Regions from separate parts of the Homo sapiens genome. Here region 2 is linked to region 1. Evidence: promoter capture Hi-C in human tissues and cell types (Jung and others, 2019). All regions are on one chromosome and are shown on one strand. Each heading gives the region's core, a stretch centred on a gene start or on the middle of the fragment in contact. The rest is flanking DNA. Distances are from core to core; before and after follow the strand shown.

What was found. The method cuts DNA at HindIII sites, captures the fragments that hold promoters and counts their contacts. A contact is called where the count stands out against the background at its distance.
Region 2: a contact is called between a fragment that was not itself captured here and the fragment with the promoter of LGI2 in region 1, in 3 of the 25 tissues and cell types used here (aorta, neural progenitor cells and thymus).

The regions. Positions count from the first base shown.
Region 1 is chr4:25,027,401-25,033,216 of GRCh38, reverse strand. It overlaps LGI2 (leucine rich repeat LGI family member 2), which reads left to right and starts at 2,271. Exons shown (of 8, transcript NM_018176.4): 1 at 2,271-2,720; 2 at 4,639-4,710. The coding sequence starts at 2,524. It overlaps LOC124900684 (a long non-coding RNA gene), which reads right to left and starts at 3,109. Exons shown (of 2, transcript XR_007058083.1): 1 at 2,984-3,109. The HindIII fragment of the contact is 9,452 bases long and covers 1-5,419 here.
Region 2 is chr4:25,070,218-25,076,033 of GRCh38, reverse strand. No RefSeq gene overlaps it. Among named protein-coding and RNA genes, the nearest start is that of LGI2, 42 kb to the right of the region's middle. The HindIII fragment of the contact is 3,960 bases long and covers 793-4,752 here.

The DNA.
Region 1 (5,816 bases), core at 1,022-3,521:
CACCCCAAATATCTCCACACATGGCCAAGTGTCCCCTGAATTACCCGCAATTGAGAACCACAACACAAGACAGTGACTCTGATTACAATGGAAGGACAGAAGTCAGGAAAACCCATCTCCCTCCATAGTCCTCTCTCCGTCACTTACCTACAATCTAGTCACATAGAACTCTGCTCAAACGCCCAGTGCCTCCTTTGTGGTATTAAATGCTTTACTTTCTTGATCTCATTTAACCCCCAAATGTGGTTACAACAACCTCTTGTTTACAGGTGAAGAAATGGAGGTTTAGAAAGATCACAGCTTGCACAGCAGTAAGTGGCAGGCTGGGATTACACAATTACACATCAGTAAGTGGTAGGCTGGGATGCAAACCCCAACCTGTCTAGTCCTGAGGCCAGCATTTAGCTATGCCACCCTGCCCCCAGGCTCTCACTCAGAGGTGAGAAATAGATTTTCTTTTCCTGGGTCAGCAGGGAGTGCTCTGTTTGAGAAGCCTCCGTTCCTCTGCTCTATAAAGCAGTAGCCCATCCCTCTTAAGGGAAACATCTTTCAGGTGCACAGCACACACATCCACGATTGTGGGTCTGCATGTCTGTCGCCCTCCCAGGCTGTGGTCTGTGTCCTCAGCCCCTAACACTGGGGCTTGCTGAGTAAAGTATTTGTAAATGCATGCCCACACAGCAGCGAGGGTTAGACACAGCAGCCAGTTGTGGAGTATGATCTCCCTGGCCATGTCCTGTGTGATCTTGGACAAGATAAAAACTTCTCTGAGCTCAATGTTCCCATCCATAAAATGGGAGGACCCATTTCTCAGGACAGATGCAAGAATTAAATGATGATAAATGCAGGCTGGTTTGTACTGATGCCAGGTGCTTTTTACATAGTCACCAGCAGGGAATGTCTAACTCCCTCCATGAAGTTGCCTACGCAAAGCTCTCTTTCAATTCCTGAACCTCTTTTGGTCAGTCTGTGACCCCCTTGTAGCCAGTGGAGTTGCTCTTTTAGGGTTGTCTGTCCAGCTAGACTTTTAGCTCCCTGAGGACAGGAGCTGTTCCTTTGTTCCCTCCCACAGCAGCCAGCCTGATACCGTCCTCATGGATCTTGTCAATGGATCACCAACAATAATTGCTGAAGAAGCAATAGTATGATTCCTACTTTTGCATTCGATACTGACTTTTCTGAGTAGGTTTTAGCATCTGGCATGCTTTTCCTTGGTTTGCAGCTCGACAGTCGTGCTGTGATTCCCTTCTCCCAGCAGTTCAGGTTATTAGCCATTACTTTGTTTCCGCTTTGGTCATTTTCTTTGATTTCCTCAGCCGCACATTACCTGTGTTAAGATTTCCGCTCATTGCTTCAAACTTAAGGAGTTGAAGAGGGGCTCAGGAGGGCCCAGTTAAGGTAGCCCTTCAAGGCTCCGAGCCCCATCCTGCCCAGCCAGGAGCTGCTGGACCATCAGCCAGTCAGGATGCTTTCTGGGCGTCAGCAGCCTCATCAATAAATTAAGGATATAAGTAGGACCTGCCTCAAAAGGTTAGAAGATTAAAAGTACAGTGGCTAGAATGTATCACACCCTCAATCTCTACAAACCCTCCTCTGACTGGGGCGGGTGGGGTGACCCGTGGGCAGCTGAGCGAGGGGAAACTTTCCCGGGCTTTCCAGCTCTTTAGCAGGCAGCAGGCAGGGCCCAGAGCGCCGGGCGTGCAGGCTGCAGCGGCTTTGCTTCCCCACGTTCCTCCCATGGGAGGACTGGCTGGCTTCAGTAACCCCTGGTGCTGTGGGAGCGAGAGCCAGACCTCACTGCCCCACCGCAGAAGACAAGCAAAGCCATCCTCGCTGACCCTACCGGCAGCATGCACTTCAAAATTAATAAAGGCTGCTCCAAAGTCTCTCCTCTTCAAAGCACCCAGGGCTGCCTCCCTCCCCAGTAATCAAGCCGGTTCTCCACACTCCCCGCTCCGACTTTATTGATTTGCCTGAAAGGAACCCAGTGCCCTCCCCAGATTATACCCCTGGAGGTATTGCAGGCATCGGATCCTCCACCGCTCAGTCAGGCCCCGACGGGGGTCTCCGCCAGGCTTGGCCCCTCCCCCAAGGTCACCCAACTTTTCCCTCTGTCCCCGCGCCCGGCCCGGGGCGAGAGGGGGTGGCGAGGTGGGGGCCGGGTGGGGCGCCACGGGGCCGGCGCTGGCCCCCTCCCCCGCGGGGCGGGCCCCGCCATGCATTATTCATTGGCCAGAGCCGGGCTGCGGGCGCGAGTGCTGATGTCAGGCAGGCGCGAGTGCGGCGGGCGCAGCGGCGGCGGCCGCCCAGCAGCCCGGGCTCGGGTGGGGGGGCGCCGAGTGGGGGTGGCGGCCAGCATGCTGCTCGGCTGCGGCTCGGCCTCCCACACCCGCGGCTCCCTAGTCCTCGCCAGCAGCGGCGGCGGCAGAGCAGCGAGCGGCGCCCGCGTCTGCAGCGGCGCCGGGTCCGAGCGCGCGGCGCGGCGGTGGGGGTCGGGGCCCGGGCGGGGAGCGGGGACCGGGCATGGCGCTGCGGAGAGGCGGCTGCGGAGCGCTCGGGCTGCTGCTGCTGCTGCTGGGCGCCGCGTGCCTGATACCGCGGAGCGCGCAGGTGAGGCGGCTGGCGCGCTGCCCCGCCACTTGCAGCTGTACCAAGGAGTCTATCATCTGCGTGGGCTCTTCCTGGGTGCCCAGGATCGTGCCGGGCGACATCAGCTCCCTGTGAGTGGGACCCCTCCAGCCCCCATCCCGTCCCGCCCCACCCTGCGTCCGCCGCCGCGAGGGAGTTGCCTCTGGCGCCGGGCCAGCGCGACCCTGACCCACTCCCCAGGCCCCTTCTTTGCCTTTGTGTGGGGGACGTGGGTGGAGTGTTGGCCCCCGGGGAGGACGGTGAGGACCTGAGCCCCAGAATCTGGGAACCCAGACAGGTTCCTGTGGCAGCGTTTCTCAGAGTGTGGCCCACGGGCCACCTGCATCAGACTCACCTGGGGAAGCTTGTGCCAATGCAGAATCCAGCTGCTCTGAAGCAGTCTTTGGAGTGGAGTCCTGGAGTGTGCGTTTGACGTCCCCGGGAGACTCAAGGGTGCATTAAAGTTTGAGAGGGCGTGTGCGTGTGTGTGTGTGTGTTTGCGGGTTGGAGTTGTGTGTGTAGGGGCGTGCATAGGAGCAGCTGAACACGACCTGACTGAGTGCAAACTGGGCAGGGTGAGGCCTCACTGCCCCACATCAGGTCTGGGGCGAATGTTCACCCCGTGGCCTCCTCCCGACTTCTCCACATTGCAGGTTGCAAAAAGTCGAGGTCAAGGCATGCAGGCTCTGGGAGGGGAGGGGCCGCCCCCCGTGGCCTAGAAGAGGGGTAACAGAAGGCTGGGCAGAGGTTTGGGGCATGTTGGGCGCCTAGCCCAGTGGCCAAGTGCTTTGAAGTCAGCCTTCTTGCCCTGAGGTCAGGAGGGCTTCTTGCCCCCTTTCTCCATCACACAGTTGTGTTGGCTGCTTTTTCAGCAGGAGGAACTGACAGGAAAGGGCTTCACATTAGGTATCCACCTGCCGAGAGGTGCTTTCATCCTGCCCTCACCTGGCCACTCAAGCCAAATGACCAGCTCTCACAAGGGCGGTGGAAGGGGCTGTTGGGCTGTATCTTTACTGCTAGGACATGTTTCCTGCTAAGACCACTCTCTTGTTCCAGGCCAAGATGCCTGGGTGCCCAGTCAGTGGTGGAGGCAGGGAATCCCCGGGGTGACGTTGCTTGTGCTCAAGATACTTTCTTGTGTCCAGTGCTTCCCAGCCTCCCACCCAAGGCAAATTGTAGGGGCCTGGACCCAGGAGTGAGGGGGTTCCCATTTGCATTTATAGAAAGTCAGAAGAGTTTGGCTGGTGGGAACAGAGGACCTTTTTGATTCTTAATATTGCTAAGTCGGGTGACATGGAGGATTCCAGAAATTAGAGTTCCCCTTATTAAATCCTTCAGACCAGCAGCTGCTTAAGTGATCTGCATGCCAACTGAAAGGAATTCTGAAATAATGTATTCAGATCCTGCTGTGGCCAGAAAGGATGGGGGCCTGGGGGCAGAAATAAAGCCAAGCATCTTGCCTCCTGGTTGACCGTTTTATCTGGCAGATGGTACTGCCTCTCCCCACACAGGGGAGTTCAGGTGTCTGTGAGTTTTTCCCCAGGGCTTTCATGTTGCATTTAATCAGGAGTGCTCTGTCTTTCAGAGATGGGGTCCCAAGAGGAATGCTTAATCCTACCCCAGCATTTCATAGGCCAACACAACGCTGTGTCTACACAAACAGAATCATGGGCAGAGGTGAAGCGATTATCCATTTTCAGGCAAGGACCTCCTGTAGTTAAGAAAAGGAAGTGAAGGGATTGATTTAAACTGACCGAGATAATGTCTGTGGAAGGAGCTGATGGTAAAGGTTTCTGTTATTCAGACTAGTCTTCATATTGATCTGATTCATTGGGAAGTGGCTTGTCTCTTCTTATTCCTACCCCGGGGAAGATCCTGGGCAACTGTGCTATGCCTCACTCCTGAGAGTCAGGGTTTGAAGTACAGGTGGAGGCAGAGTTTGATTACCCACCCTGCATGGCACTTCCTAAAAGAAACCTAGGCCTACTTTTGTTCATCTTTTGCCCGTAGGAGCCTGGTAAATGGGACGTTTTCAGAAATCAAGGACCGAATGTTTTCCCATCTGCCTTCTCTGCAGCTGCTGTGAGTATGGGAAGTTCCCTCTGCACAATGGGGGGCCCTGAGGTGCCATCCTTGGAGGGCCGTCTCTGCCTCTTTGGTATCAGCCCTTCCTAAAGTACCCCAGCTCCGTGAGGAGACCGTGGCTGCCTCTTGGTGTTAATTTACCCTGTGATGTCCCCAGCAAAGCACTGAGGCTCCCTGCTCAGCTCTTTCCTTAGTTCGATACCTGTTTTCTTCAGAGACTTTATTGTAGATCCCAACACCCAGATCTAGTAAATGGGGAGGTAATTGCATTGACTCATGACCTGAAAGTCACCTAAATGCACTGTTTCCCAAACACCTCAGTTTAAAAGAAAACTTCATTTTAAAATCTTAATGTTACTCTGGAAATAGGAGTGTTTCTAGTTTGCTGAGAACTTAAACCAGTCAGGCAGCATCCTATGAACTTACGTGCGTAATTTTATTTCATCATCACTTCATCGGTATGATGAAGGCATGCTTATGATCCCATTTGATAGATAAGGAAACTGAGGTTCAGGGAACTTAACTAACTTGTCCCAAATCAGAGCCAGATTCTAGTCCAGGGCCAAAAGCCCACACTCCTAACTATTCCTCATCCCATCTCCTCTCTGTGAGCAATGCTCAAGTCCCTGTGGTGATGCTCATGTTGTGCCCTGTAACCCAGGCTGGGTAATGTGTGCTGATGAAAACAAATGTCCAAAAAGTAGTTTTCAAAAGCAATCCAGTGACAGGCAAAGTAAGAGTACACACCTCATTCTCTTGATCTGTGTTGGTTTCTTAAATTTGAGATGAGACTGAAATTAAAACAAGCAATGTGCTATAGAAAAATTTGGATAAATGGAATATAGGAGAGCACTATTCATCCTCAATAAACATACTCTTGATACTTTTGTTCTTGAAATCTTATATGCCTACTTTTAACATTACACTTAACATTTTAAAATCTGAGGCCTCTTAGAAATTGCAGTGCTATTAAAATATACTTTTCATATAATAGAAATACAATTTTAGGTATTCTTTTGCCAGTAGACTTGGGTGATGACTCAAATAGAAAACTACGTAGTAACAGTCTCCTGAAAGTTTCTTAAACAAACTTTTTTTTTTTT
Region 2 (5,816 bases), core at 1,523-4,022, 42 kb before region 1:
CCCCACAGTCTTAAGCTTCAAGCCAGCCTGAACAAATTCCTGCAAGCCGCCGTGGGGAGAGAGCCACCCCCTCCTGTAAAAACAGCCCTGTCACACTTCATGGCAGGTGCATGCTAGGCAGAGATCTGTATTTGATTATTCATATTCTCTTTTGGTTTTGCTTGATAGGATTTAGAATGATCTGAGGGAAGGAAAGGAATGTGTCAAGAGAAGAGAGGTGACGGGCGGATGCGGGCTAAGGGGGGGACACTTTAACAGAGGGGAAAGAGGTAGCTCCTTCCTCACTTTTGACAGAGTTAGGGATCTCAGTGGAGCAGGCTACAAAATACAAATCATATCATTCCTGTGAGAAAACGGCAAGTTTGTCCTCACATTAGGAAGTCATAGTAACAAGAAATGTTCACACTAACAAGTACTGAGTACTAAGTACTTAATCTGTGTGCCAGGAACTGCACCATTTCCCACGAATTATCCGCTCTCTTTGCCCTCATTGTACATATGAGAAGACAGAGAGGTTATGCAGTGTGCGCAAGACCACTCAGTGAACGGGCGGCTGAGATGGGTCTCCAGCCTGCATCTGTCTGAAGCTCCCGGCTCTTAGCAGCTCTGCAGAGACGCAGCCGGGAAGAAGCCAGAACAGACTGCAGTCAGCGGTTCTCAGCCCTGGAGATGCAGTCACATCAGCTGGGGAGCCTTTAAAACAGCACTGGGCCCAGGCGCCTCCCGGAGAGCCTGACTGAATGGAACTGGGCTGCGGCCTGGGCATCGGTTTGTTTCTAAAGCTCCCCAGGTGAATCTGATGTGCAGTCAGGGCTGTGAACCATGGCTGGATGGGTTGGAGCTGAAAGTAAGTCCTGAGGTGACCTGGGCAGAGGTAAGACTCTGAGACTAGGGAGCCTGGGAGAAGGAAGACAAGAATCACAATTTCTTTCTTCTTCCTTCCTTTTAATGATAAGTGACACTGCATTCAAGATAAACTTGAAGAACTTTAAATACCAAGTTTCCCTAAAGCACAGAGAGCAAACCATCTGAAACTTCTTTAATTTCATCAGTAGCTCAGGCCCAGAACCAGCCAGACTGCCGTCTGACACAAATGCCACTAGAGAGCCGTCATCCTGTCCCTGGGCCAGGTTAACCCATATCTGGAGTTAATCCAGACCTAATTTTATATATATATATATATATATATATATATATATATATATATATATACTTTTTTAATTTTTAAAATCTTGGTAAAATATACGTAACATAAAATTTACCACTTTAATCATTTTTACCTATACAGCTTGGTGGCATTAACTCTATATGCAATGTTGTGCAGCCATCCCCATTGATATGGTTTGACTCTGTGTCCCCACCCAAATCTCATCTTAAATTGTAATCCACATAATCCCCACGTGTTGAGGGAGGGACCTGGTGGGAGGTGATTGGATCATGAGCCGGTTTCCCCCATGCTGTTCTCGTGATAGTGAGTGAGTTCTCAAGAGATCTGATGGTTTTCTAAGGCAGTTTTTCTTGCTCTTGCTCACTCTTCTGTCTCCTGCCACCATGTGAGAAGGCCTAAGCTTGCATCCCCTTTGCCTTCCCCCATGATTGTAAGTTTCCTGAGGCTTCCCCAGCCATGCAGAACTGTGAGTCAATTAAACCTCTTTCCTTTATAAATTACCCAGTATCGGGTATTTCTTTATAGCAGTGTGAAAATGCACTAATACACCCACTATTCATTTTCAGAACCTTTTCATCTTGCAAAACTGAGACTCTGTGCCCATTCAACAATAACTCCCCATTCCTCCCTCCTGCTAGCCCCTGGCAACCAGCATTCTACTTTCTGTCTCTGAATCTGACTGCAACCCAGACCTCATTTTATGACAGATTAGTTATTCCTATAACAGCTCAAATAAAATCAAATAATTATAACTACCCTCGATTAAGCAGTTAATTACAGAGCAACTATCTCAGTAGGTGCTATCGCAACCTCCACTGAACAGATGACCATGCAGTGTGGCAGAGACAATTCTATGTGCTCACACTGGAAGACCACCTTTTCTAGCCTCTATGCAGGGTAGGTGGGGCCATACTACTAGGTTCTAGCCAATAGAAAATAGGCAGAAGTGATGAATATCATTTCCAAGCCTGGCTGTAACCCCCTGTGCTATCTCCCACACTCTTTCACCCTTCTGCAGCAACCTAAGAGGCTACATATTTAAGGTGGCAGTGTTAAAACATGAGAAGAATCTGAATCTTGAGTCCCTGCTTGGACAGAGCCATCAAGAATTGGTGTCCAACCTGCATCAAACTGGGGCATGAACAAGAAATCAAATTGAGATATTGTGCAATTTTATTACTGCAGCAAAGCCTATCCTACCCTAATATAGAGAGACCCAATGACTTACTGTATTAGTTCATTTTCACACTGCTGATAAAGACATACCTGAGACTGGGTAATTTATGAAGAAAAAGGTTTAATGGACTCACAGTTCCACGTGGCTGGGGAAGCCTTACAATCATGGCAGAAGGTGAAAGGCACATCTCACATGGTGGCAGACAAGAGAAGAGAACTTGTTCAGGGAAACTGCTTTCTAAAACCATCAGATGTTGTGAGACTTATTCACTACCATGAGTATAGCACAGGATAGACCCATCCCCATGATTCAGTTACCTCCCACTGGGTCCTTCCCACATATATGGGAATTGTGGGAGTTACAATTCAAGATGAGATTTGGGTGGGACACAGCCAAACCATATCACTTTTTATAGCTAATAGCCACTGGAGTCAGTATTCAACCCCACTTCTCTCTGATACCCTATTTGGTGGCCTTGGCATTACACTCTGCTGCTATTGTGTTGTCCACATTGCTCTCAAAGTATCTATTTGAGGTTAAATATATGGCCTTAAAAAACTGCTTACTTCTGTACAAAAAGCTAGGCATTTTCATATGTCCCTCTCTCCACACCAAACTACCCTCTGTACATCTTGCTATTCCCCAAAAGAAAAATAAAACAAGCTTCTTTTGCTGAGCTCCATCCCTCCAGTTGACAAAAATCCCAGGAGCCTCTGGTCCTCAAGTCAGGCAGACATTTAAACCTATTCTTCTTTAAGAGATGCTTCACCAGCAATTTATTTCCTGTCACAGCCTGTGTTTTCTGCCTATGAAGGATGATATTTTGTTCACCTTTGGTGCCTTTACCCCATCGTATTCTGCAGTAAATGTCCCCAAACAATGCTTGCACTATCCATTAGGAAAGGCTGTCTCGACTGGCTGTCACCCAGCAAGGCTGCTTCTCCCAGTCTTTGGTCTAAACATAATGTCATTTCTTCTTAGCACATCACCCACTACTATCTCCTGTTTTTAAAAAAGTGTTTCAACAGAATGTTTCTTCTCTATTCTATATCAAAATCTGTTTCATCACAACAAGCCGAGAGCTTGATAACCTTTTTAAAACTTTGAAGAGGAAAGTGTAGAAAAATGACCCAGAGATAGAACATACATCTGGGAACTTAGAAAAGTGAAGTTGGATGTAGAGCAACAACAAGAGTGAAAAGAAAATGTTAGAAAACTTTCCACATTATGAACCTCACAGAACAGAGAGGTAAATATTTTTTACTCAAGCATTGAAATAGAGTACGGTGGCCAGATTTAGCAACTAAAATACCAGATGCCTAGTTGCATTTGAATTTCAGATCAGCAGTGAATCATTTTTTTGTATGTCTCATGCAATATTGGGGTATATTTGTACGAAAACAGTATTTGTTATTTATCTGAAATGTAAATGTAACTGGGCACCATGCATTTTGTCTGGCAGTGCTAAGGGAGGGCACAGGCTCAGGCTCAAACTCTGGTTCTGTCCCTTATCAGCTGGGGACAGCTTGGATCGAATACTTAACGTCTCTGTGCCTCAGTTTCCTCATCTCCACAATGGGGATAGTGAAAGGGCTATTGGGAGACTCAACTGGGAGATGCAAGTAAAGACTGTGCACTGCACCTGGTACACAGTAAGTGTTCAATAAATATACAAAAGCTGGTGGATGGCTAAGGGGAAACCAAGCCTGTCAGCATTCGCCAAGGGCCTCTTCCATGTTTGGTGCCATGTTGTGTCTGTTTTGTATCTGAGTCCCTCTGTGACTTTGGGCAAGGTGTTAATCTCTCTGAGCTTTACTCTCCTTATCTGTAAAAAGGAGCTGATACCATCTACTCTTAGAATTTCTGGAAGCATTAGTAAACGTACACAACAGGACGACTTAATTCAAATCACCCTTCCTGTGGGTTAAGCATTGCCCCTCTGCAGAGTCTGTCCTTCTGGAGCCCTGAAGTGACCCAAGGTGCCTGGAGCCTCACCAAGGAGATGAAGTTGGAGGAAGGCCTGGAAGAGCCAGAAGAGAAAATGGCACCCTAAAGAAAAGGGGGAACAGAAGAAACCGCTTTCCTTGCACTTTGCCTGTGTGGGAGGAGCTGAATTTCTGTTTTAGTGAGAGGTCCCCGCTGAGAAGCTTCCTTCTATGTTCTCTCCACACCTCCTCCTTTCTGATTTGCTGGTGTCATTTTTTTTTTTTGTTTTTTTTTTTGAGACGGAGTCTGGCTCTATCACCCAGGTTAAAGTGCAGTGGTGCAATCTCGGCTCACTGCAACCTCGGCTGCCTGGTTTCAAGCGATTCTCCTGCCTCAGCCTCCCAGGTAGCTGGGATTACAGGCACCCACCACCACACCTGGTTAATTTTTGTATTTTTAGTAGAGACAGAGTTTCACCATGTTGCCCAGGCTGATCTCAAACTCCTGACCTCAGGTGATCCTCCCACCTCAGCGTCTCAAAGTCCTGGCATTACAGGTGTGAGCCACTGCACCCAACAGATTTGCTGTGTCTGAAATTCCTTTCCTATAAGACCCTGATTCTAACCCAATTTGATCCTTTAAATATTTGTTGAGCACGTACCACATACAATGGGACAGCAGGTGGTGGGAGAGACATATCTAAAATTTAAACGGGATCAGTCTTAGGCTAGAGAGAAAAGCTTTGATGGTAGAATTTTAGGAACTTGGAGAGGCATTTCTGAAAGCAAGAGATTTCCAAGGACTCCTGAAATTATACTATCTAATTCTTCCGTGCATCAGACAAGTTTTGAGCACCTATTACATGCCTGTCACTGTACTGGGGACTGAACAGGTAGATGAGTGAGATCCAGTTCCAGCCTTGCAGTTGCTCTGGTCCACTGAGCAATGTGTTAAATACAATGTGGCAGGTGCTATGATGAGCATAAGAACAGGGCACCGTGGGGACACAGAGTAGGGAAGGTCAACCAGGACCTGTGGGGGCAGGGAAGGCTTCCCGGAGGAGGTGATATTTGACTCCAGTCTTGAAGGAGGAGTGGGTGTTAAAGAAGGGGAAGAAACAAAGGCAAGAAGCCTTTCAGGCAGAAAATACAGCACCTGCAAAGGCCTGCATCACCTATATAAGACCCACCTAATAATAATAAAACACCACCTGCTGGGCGCTGTGGCTCACACCTGTAATCCCAGCACTTCGGGAGGCCGAGGCGGGTGGATTACGAGGTAAGGAGATTGTGACCATCCTGGCTAACATGGTGAAACCCCGTCTCTACTAAAAATACAAAAAATTAGCTGGCCACGGTGGCACGCCTGTAGTCCCAGCTACTCAGGAGGCTGAGGCAGAAGAATTGCTTGAACCCAGGAGGTGGAGGTTGCAGTGAGCTGAGATAGCACCACTGAACACCAGCCTGAGTGACAGAGTGAGACTCTGTCTCAAAAAACAAAAAACAAAAAAAAAAAACCACCACCAAAAATAGCAGTAGCCAATGT